Regions from separate parts of the Homo sapiens genome. Here region 2 is linked to region 1. Evidence: promoter capture Hi-C in 16 types of primary human blood cells and fetal thymus (Javierre and others, 2016). All regions are on one chromosome and are shown on one strand. The core of a region is centred on a gene start or on the middle of the fragment in contact, and the rest is flanking DNA. Distances in the headings are between cores, read along the strand shown.

Evidence for each region. The method cuts DNA at HindIII sites, captures the fragments that hold promoters and counts their contacts. A CHiCAGO score of 5 or more calls a contact.
Region 2: a fragment that was not itself captured here is called in contact with the fragment with the promoter of C3orf36 in region 1 in 1 of 17 cell types (endothelial precursors); the score reaches 5.7 in endothelial precursors.

The regions. Positions count from the first base shown.
Region 1 is chr3:133,926,132-133,931,131 of GRCh38, forward strand. C3orf36 (chromosome 3 putative open reading frame 36) reads right to left here and starts at 3,681. Exons shown (of 1, transcript NR_161373.1): 1 at 2,014-3,681. RefSeq lists a silencer at 1,310-1,839. The HindIII fragment of the contact is 5,965 bases long and covers 1-5,000 here.
Region 2 is chr3:134,106,877-134,111,811 of GRCh38, forward strand. No RefSeq gene overlaps it. Among named protein-coding and RNA genes, the nearest start is that of LINC02000, 52 kb to the left of the region's middle. The HindIII fragment of the contact is 1,108 bases long and covers 1,347-2,454 here.

The sequences.
Region 1 (5,000 bases), core at 2,431-4,930:
CTAGAACTCTTGTGCTGGGCCCAGGCTCAGCCAGTTTCCAATGCCTGTTTTATAACAAGGCAAGTTCTGGTGCTGGGATGGGCTCCCGCATGGCCTTTTGCTAACCCTGCATTCTGCGCTGGCTCATCCTGGCTGCCAGGAGCCTGTGGGTGCCTGGGATGCTCCTGCTGCTTGCTGGTCCTGCCCTCGGCTCTGACGTCTCCTACTCTAGTATCCCAGTGGCCATAATGACAAGTAGGCCTCCCTCCTAAGGACCTTTGCCAGCCAGGTTCCCTCTTCCAAGTACACATGTAGCCCCAGTGGCCTTTTACACCCTGAAATCTGGTTGCATCTTGCCTCTGTTAAAATTCTGTCAGCGACGCCCCATCATCCACCAGCAGCACCCTGTTAGTTACTAAAGGAGATGTACATGATACACTCTCTCCCTCTAGAATCCACCACTCACCACGCTCTGCCTGAGGCACCTTGCAACTGGGGGCGCTACTTACACCCTGCCCTCCAGGCAAACATGGTCCAGTTTTCTCATCTCTGAGTCTTCACTCCTGCAGTCCCCTCCGCCCAGAACACCTTCTCTAAGGCCCCTGTCAACAAACTTACCCTATCCTTCCAGGCACAGTTAGAGCTCATCTCTGCTCCAGATCTCCAATCCCTAGGGAACGGGCCTCTTTCACCTTTGTTAATCCACCACATACACCGGCTTCCCCCTGCATTTCCATGCAGGCATCTGTCTGTCTGTTTGCACTTCTCCTTCATGGCACTATTGCACCTGTAATTGATCAGCCAATTGCAGCCACAGTTTGGATGCTTTCTTGGTTGTCTGTCTGCCTTCTGTTTGTCTTGTTCACCTCTATAGGCCTGGTGCCCGGCTTGCCCGGGTACCTGAGTCTGTGACGGGATGGGTACCTGCCCCTTTCCCGGGGTGGACAGTGCCTGGAATGCTGACAACAGTTTCTTTCCGACATGCAAGCCTATCTCGGGGCCAGGCCCCAGGAGGTGCTGTGGTGAAGGTTTTGGGAATTGGAAGGAGGAAGCAGAGGCTACCTAGCCCCCTGCAGTGGCTGAATAATGGTTCCCAGATGGTGCCAGTGACGCAGTGGGGAGGCTGACAGCTTCTGGGTGCGAATGGCCCCACAATGCGGCCGGGGACCACCCTGCTCACGGCCGGTCAGAGAGCCTGAGGAAGCCGTGTGTTCCCGCGGGCCCTCTCGGTGCCTCGTGGCACCTTACTCTCTACTCCTCTTGTTCTCTAACGTGTTTAATACACTTTCGTGCAGAAAACATAAATAGACTAAACGGTGCTTTATCGCGGGCAGTCAGAGAGGAAGTTTTCTCGAGGCTGTGTCCCGTGAGCAGGCGCCGGTGGGCTCAGCCGCCGGGCCCTCCGAGTAGGGGAAGGCGTGCGTGCGTGCGTGCGGTGGGCGCGGGGAGCCCCGCAGGCCCGAGGGCGCCCCGGCGGGGAAGCGGGCTATCGGAGGCGCGCTGAGCCGGGTGGTGGAGTCCCGCCCGGCTGGCTGTGGGGCCGCGGGGGCGTCCCGTGGGCGGGCTGGGCGTGGCGCCTCCGCGGGTGGCTTCCCCGGGCCGCGGCGGAGGGGCGGCGCCCCCTGGTGGCGGAATGCGACTCCAGGGCGCAAGGGGCCGCCCACCCCGCCTCGCCCACCCGGCGGGGGCCTCCGCGCCTTTTCTGAGAAAGCCAGAGGAAAGGAGCCGAGACCGCAGTCCCCTGGGCCCGTTTCCTCGTCTGTGGAATGGCATGATTATTGCATCTCACAGGGCTGTCGTGAAGATTCAAGGAGCAAATGTATGTAAAGCGCTTCGGATGTCTGGTACATTCTGAGCCTTCAACCCACCTGAGCTGTTGAAACTCTGGGATTCAAGCGATTCGGGTCAAAGAGGAACGGTGTGACACCTGCCTCTGTCCTTTCCAAGGTGGACTCAGGGATTGCATACGTCTCATCCAGAACCCCCAGTCTCTCTTTTGTAAGCTGGCGGTCATGAGATGTAATGAGGAAAAGGTTTAAACAAATGTTGGTCCCTATCTGGGACCTCTGAAGTCACTTTTAATGGATTTGGGGATTTTACAGATTTAAAAAGGGGTGCCTACTGTGGCCCATTTATAGACCTGTGGAGCGAAGAGAAGGAGATTAGTCACACTGGGGGCCGGAGTAGAAGCCGTTTTAAATTAGTTGCCCCGCTCTGCCTTGAGACTGAGACTTTCTGACTCTCAGTTTCACCCTTGGGTTCCAGCACCCAGATGAGAAGAGAGAGAAGGTGGAAGAGGAAGAGAGGGAGGGGATAGAGCAGCGGCCACCACCTCTCCCTGAGAGGGCGCAGAGTGGGTGGTTCCCCCCAGGTGAGCAAGGTGGGGGCCCCGTGGGTGTGCTGGGTAGGGGTGGAGTGTGCTGGGAGCACGCGGGAGGACTGCGCCTCTGCTCCTCGGGGTGTGGCGCGGCCCACTCAGGAGCCCCTTCCAGTGTAGACTCCAGGAGGGTACTCTGAGCTAGGAATGCCTTCCTGAGCGTGGTTGGTGGGGGCTCTAAGGCCATTCCTCCAGGCCCTGAGGGGGCAGAGAGACACGTGAGCACTAACCCAGGAGCCGGGACTAGGCTGAGCCCACTACTCACAGCCTGGGGTAAGCCAGCCTCAAGACCCTCCAGGATGGTCTCAGCCTGCATCCGACTGCCTCTCCTGCCTGACCACTGCGCTCCTTCACAGGCCTCTGGCCGGCGAGTTCTCAAGATGTGCAAAGGTTTCCTGCTTCCTTACCTTTGCACACCTTTGCTTATTCCTTTTGCCCAGAAAGTCTTTCCCAGCACATTTGACTCTCTTGAATTCCAGTCTCTCCCGCATGGCTAGGATCAAGCCCGTTCTCCCATCGCTCATCAAATGAACTCAGAGCATAGTACTTTGCCCTGTGTTAAGGTCTTGTCTTAGCTCTGGATTATATGTCCTTGAAGGGTAGGGACCATGTGTTTGTCACCACCTGTCCTTATACACATCAGGTAGTACATAAATCAAGGGAGGCGTGAGGGACAACTGGAAGGAGCCTCGTTTTCTCCATGTACAGGATGGGACTAGTCATAGTGGCCGCACAGGGCTGTGGGAACTCTGGTGCGATTCTGCCATGAGTCACCCCATCTCCTCCTTGCCTGCAGGGTCTCGCTCCATCAGCTGTCCTCTTGGACCCCGCAGCCTCCCCATCCTGTGGCCTTTTGCCCCAGCAAATCTCTCCTCTCTGAAGCCATCCTTTCCTTGACCCTGCATCTCTCTCAGCCACCACCCCATCTCTGCCTCCTCTGAGCAAAATCGTCTTTCCCACCTCCCCAGCCCTCTGCAGACTGCCTCGGCCTTGCCTGGGCATCATCCCCTCAGCTTCAGGGACCCACAATTGGTGCTTCCTCCATTGGGAAATCTTTCCAGACTGTGCTTCCCAACCCCGACAGCCCCGCAAAGCTGGTTTAAGTGTCCCGGTGAGCAACTGTGTCCACCTAGGTTCACTACCCACAGTAGAGGGTTTTAGTGCTCAACCATATCTGCTCTTTTCTTCTCCTGAGCACACAGAATATTCTGTTCCGCTCTTGCGGCAGCTAGGCTGGGAGCAGAGTGAAGAGCGTTACTTTGGGACAAAGCATTGCTTAGCAGTGCGGGATCTTCCAGGACTTTCTTCCCCTGCCCCATCCATCATGGCAGCTTATAATGAAATGGAGGTACCTCAGGTTCCAAACAGTCTGAGTTACTGAGACACTGGTTGGGGGGGCTCTCAGGCCAATCCTCCAGGCCCTGAGCAGGCAGAGGGGCACTACTGAGCCACTGACCTGAGAGTCACCCAGATCACCACAGGTTCTGTGAGCGAGATACCATCTTTTGTTGTGTCAAGTGACTAAGATTCGAGAGGTTTGTTACCACAGCATAGCCAAGCCTTTCCCCACTGATTTACTGATTAAAGAAGTGTTTTAAATGGGTTAATGGCTTGGTAAACTGTAAAGATCTGTGCACATTTTAGTTATTATTATTGCTGTCAAGTTGTAGCAGGGCTGGAGACATGATGTGGCTGGAGAGTGGAGGAATGGCCAGGGTATGCCATGGAGAAAAACTTCCTCTCATTTATGATTTGCCAAGGGCTTTTCCAGGATCTGTTTCCATATTTAATCTCTGATGAAAGGTTATAATGAATCTGGTGTCTGGTGCTACTGGCAGGAGATGGACCTTTCTTCCAGGTATTTACTTCCTGTGGTTGCGAAAGATAGGATGTATTTCTTCTGGATTTGCTGCAATATAATATTTTAGTATCAATTTGATACTGACTGGCTTCAGCCTCCAGCTTAACTGTATCTCTCCATCTTTGAGAGTGGTTGAATAAAATCACAATATGGCTTTGTTTCTTGAGCAAGAATCTGCTAAGCAGTCACCAGATGGAGCTGTTCCCTTGAAGGTCTGTGTGCAGGATTCTCAGGGCCTTTTCTTCTCAAAACCCTTCCCTCTTTGTCTCTTTTCTCCACAACTCTCTTTAACTCATGGTGCTATAGGGATAAATTGGCCCTGTTTAATGAATAGTTGTGATGTTGTTGCTAGTTGAATAGAAGGTAAGTAAATGAACTGTTACCTGGTTCTTTTGCCTTTGTTACCCACCTTAATGGCCCTCAAGAGATTCCCCCACTTCCCTCCCATGGGCCAGTGAACATCAGTGGGAAAAGAGGGGCCTCCCCACCATTTTAGTCCATGCTGACTCTTCAGAATGACTCAGCTGGGGCAATTGGGCTGGACCAGAGAGAAGTGGACAGCCTGGTTTGAGTCTAGACCTGGCCAGCTATTATCTATGTGAAATTGGCCACAATGGTTGCTTCCTCGGGATCAGATTCCTCACCTTTACATGGGGCATCCATCATGGAGGATCACCCCAAAGGGCTTTGGGCCAAAGGATAATTGATAGAGATACGGTATTTAGTTATCACTGTATTTGCGCTTTTTCCAAGAAGGGTAAAAGAAGGATTGAATAAAAAAGG
Region 2 (4,935 bases), core at 651-3,150, 180 kb after region 1:
TTACATTCACTTGGACCTTGAGGCTGAATCTTCCTTCTCCAACCTTCTTTTCTTAAAAGGCCTTGCACTAGGGTGTACCAGGTATTTTTCCAGTGGTTTTTCGGGGCTTTTTTTGTTGTAAGTGACAAAATAAAACAAACAATCAAACAAACAAAACCTGACTCACCTGGTATAAATAATCCAAGGAACTGTATTGGATAACAAATCAAAATGTCTAGAGGTAGGACTGGCCCTGGAATTAGGGAAGGACACCAGGACTGAGGGACAGAACACAGAACAGGGAATGGAGAGCTGCTGATGGACAGGAGAGCATACTGGAAATTTTTAGGAACATGCCCAGTGATGGAGACTGCCAGGCTACATAATGTGTGGAAGGTGAACTAGCCAAGGGTAAGGGGACAGACACCCAGGGCACCAGCTCCATGGCCTCAGCTACTCTGCCTTGCCTCCCCCAACTGCCCATGGGCACCTGGATCCAGCTCTGCTCCACTCCATATGTGCTGTTCCCTCAACCTAAAAGCCCTTCCTGTCCCATCCTCCTTTTCTCTGGCAACACTGTCTCACCTTTAAGGCCTCCCTCATGTTCTTCCCTGATCCCCCAGGGAGCACTTGGGGCTCAGTCAGCTGCCCACAACCATTCACACCTCCAGTATCATCTGCCCTGCAGGTCGAGGCTGTATCACACTGTGGATCATCAACAGTAAGCCTCCTTCACCACAGCTGGCTCTTCCAGTCAGTCAGCATGTTTAATTGACTCCTGAACCCCAAGGCTTGGTACACAAACAGGCACATGTCCATGCAGTAATGAGTGGACAAGGCAAGGATCCAATCATAACTCTAATTCCCTAATCAATAAAATGGACGCATTGATATTTTGCATGTCTATTTCTCAGGGTTCTTTCAATAAACAAAAGAGGTTGTATCTATGAAGGTACAGTGTAGATGGAAGGCATTTTTTGTAATGATTAGAATATAGGTGAGAGAGTTTAATAAAACTACCCCACATTGGTTTCTGGTCCAAGGCCCCAGTCTCATTTCTCCCCAGTCTCTACCTCTTCCTTTCCAGACTGACTCTGATTATCTAATGTGCAAATGTTCCAAAGATCAGAAGTGAAGGTGTTGGTTCTGTGGCACACAAGATCTTAAGCTATAAAAGGAAGTGGAGATAAAAAAGAAAGTACAAACTGTATTGTTTTGATCCTAATTATACAGACAATCGAATCCAAGCAGTAAGAGTATGATTAAACCCATAGTGTCACAGGGTCATCAGCTATCAAGAACTATCAGGATGGGAGATGGCATTTGTTGTGATGATTCTTTGCTGCCATGTTAGGAAAATTCTTGAAAGCTTTGCTGAGCCAAATCTCTATCCATCATCTCTCCTCCTTACCCTCGACTCCAAGGCTCACAAGGCAGCAGACATTGTTCTGGCCAGCAAATCTGGCTTAACTAAATGTGGCAGAGTCAAGTTAAGGGGTGTGTGTGTGTGTGTGTGTGTGTGTGTGTGTGTGTGTAACAGACACAGACATAAAGACAGAAACAGAGATTAAGGGGTGGAGATAAGAAATGGAAATAGATTCCCAAGATAGCTAGGTAGCAAGAAACATTTGAAGAGATAGCATGTATTTGGGAAAGACAACACACACACACACACACACACACACACACACACACACACACACACAGATGGAGAGAGAGAGAGAAAGAGAGCGCTTTACTATGTTGATATCCACAAGTCAAAGACCACCAGGAGCACAGGTTTCGTTGAACAAAATTATTGGTCTTTGTTGCAACAAGGGAGACCACATACCATGGGGAACTTTGGGGTGTTGCCCTTGTTGCAATAAGTACCAATAAACCAAACTTTGTTTGACGACAAGCCTATTTCTGTTGGTCTTTGGCTGGTAGGCATCAACAACTGTAATGAGATATTAATAATCATGATAAATGTAACTGGGATAAATTCACCTATTTTAAAAAGGCTATTGGGTTACATTTTTAAAATTAAAATTACATAGTTTTGAAAACATAGCCTGCTAAAACAATCAAGGATAGGTAAAGATATAACATGCAAACGCTAAGAGGAAGGCAAGTATAGCATTATTAGTATCAGTCAAAACAGTAAAAATCACAAACTGGGGCAGAGGAGGATATTTGATAAGAGGTATAATAAGAGGTACTTGATAAGAAGTACAATAAAAGGATTATACCCCTTATTAATAAGAAAACATGGCAGTCATAAACCTTTATGCACCAAACATGTTTTGCAATACGTGAAATAAAAACTGGCAGGTATAAAAGGCCAAATTTACATATCTATTATCATAGTGATAATAGATATGTCCCAAAAATCTGAGTCCCAAAAATATTCCTCAGTTTCTCTTAGAAACTGGTCAATCATGTGGTTGAAAATTATAAATAATAATATAGAGAATTTAAAAAGCAAAATTAAGAAGCTTAGTACAAAAGATAAAGTTAGAACTTTGTACTCAAAAAACAGAATACACATAGAACTTCCACAAAAGCTTACCAGGTAATAGGCCACAAAGGAAATCTCCAAAAGTTCTCAGAATAAGAAACACATATGCCATATTTGCTAACCATAATTCAGTATAATTAGAAAATAGTAATCACACAGACAAACACACACACACGCCTACTTGAAAATAATTCAATTTTCTTTTCTTTTCTTTTTTATTTTTATTTTTTAAGACTGTCTCGTTCTGTCACCCAGGCTGGAGTGCAGTGGCACAATCTCGGCTCACTGCAACCTCTGCCTCCCAGGTTCAAGGGATTCTCCTGCCTCAGCCTCCCAAGTAGCTGGGACTACAGGCACGTGGCACCACACCTGGATAATGTTTTGTATTTTTAGTAGAGACAGGGTTTCACCATGTTAGCCAGGATAGTCTCGATTTCCTGACCTCGTGATCTGCCTGCCTCCGCCTCCCAAAGTGCTGGGATGACAGGCATGAGACACCGCGCCCAGCCAAGAATTCAATTTCCTAAATTATTTGAGGTTTATAAGAACATTCAATCAAAGTCATACCTTAAACTATTTAGAAATGAGGAAAGTGACATCAGCAAGATGATAGGCTAGGAAGCTACAGACCCTCTTTCCCACACAGATATACTGAGTTATCAACAATATATGAAACAGAATACCTCTGTGAGAACTCCAGAGACCAACTGAAAAGCTACAGCACCCACGCCATTGTAAAACCAAAAAGGGATTCCAGTGAAAGCTGTAGGAAATTTGCAGTGTTTGGTGGGCTATTCATGCCCTTCCCCCTGCATAGCACAGAGCAAGCAGGAGGAATCCCCCTCAACTGTCACCATACAAGAGCTCCTCCCTTAGAATAAAAACAAAAGATCAGGGCTGGGTATGGTGGCTCAAGCCTGTAATCCCAGCACTTTGGGAGGCTGAGGCGGGCAGATCATTTGAGGTCAGGAGTTTGAGACCAGCCTGACCAACATGGTGAAACCCCATCTCTACTAAAAATACAAAAAAATTAGCCAGGTGTGGTGGCATACTCCTGTAGTCTCAGCTACTTGGGAGGCTGAGGCAGGAGAATCGCTTGAACAGAAGAGGCGGAGGCTGCAGTGAGCCGAGATCAAGCCACTGCACTCCAGCCTGGGTGACAGAGCGAGACTCCATCTGAAAAAAAAAAAAAAATAGATCAGAACATATGTCCAATATTATAGCTTTTCTGGGCCTGCCCAAGGGACTGGTTTCTGTCTCACCTGACTCAGAGTGCTGACAAACTGGAGCAAGATTTTGGAAACCACTGTAAACAGAGGCAAGCATCACATTAGAGCTATAGCTCTACAGGTAGATACCAGGAATAGCAAGAGATCAGAAATTATTTGAGAGGTCCAGCTGGGCTGAATGATGAAGACCTTCCTCTGCCTAATGCTGATACAAAGCCTGGAAGAGGTGTTTGTTTTTTTTAAATGCCCAAATCTCAGCAAAAAATTACAAGACACACAAAGAAACAGGGAAACATGGCCCAATCAAAGTAACAAAATAAACCTCCCCCAAAAAGCCTAAAGGAAAGCACATCTATGAGTTGCCTGACAAAGAATTTATAATGACTGTCATATACAGAACATTTACCCAACAAAAACAGAATATACATTATTCTCAAGTGTACATAGAACATTCTCCAACATAGATCACGTAATAGGCCACAAAACAAATCTTAACAAATTCAAGAAGGTTGAAATCACACAAGATATCTTTTTAAACACAACGGAATGAAACTAGAAGTCAATAGAACAAGGAAAACAGTAAGTCCACAAATGTGAAAATTCACACACTCTTAAACAACCAATGTGTCAAAGACAAGGTCAAAAGAGAAATTAGAAACTATTAAAAATAAGAACACAACATACCAACACTTATGGAATGCAGTGAAAGTGCTATGAGGGAATTTCATAGCTGTAAACATGTATATTAAAAAGAAGAAAGATCTCAATTCAGAAAGCCTAATTATATACCTTAAGAAACTAAAATGAAGAACACACTAAACCCAAAGCCAGCAAAGGAAGAAAATGAGTTGGTTTTTTGAAAGATCAACAAAATTGACAAAACTTAACTAGATTAAGAAAAAGAGAGAAGACTCAAATCACTAAAATCAGAAGTTAAAGGGAGACATTACAACCATTGCCACAGAAATAAAAAAAAAATTATTGGGAATATTATGAACAATTATACACTAAGAAATTGGATAACCTAGAAGAAATGGATAAATTCCTAGAAACACACAAACCACCAAGACAGAATCATAAAGAAACAAAATTTAATCAGACCAATAAAGAATAAAGAGATTAAATGAGTAAATCAAAAAACTCCCAAAACTTCCCAATACCAGATGGCTTCAGTGAAGAATTCTAGCAAACATTTAAAGAATTGGCATCAATCCTCTGGAAACTCTT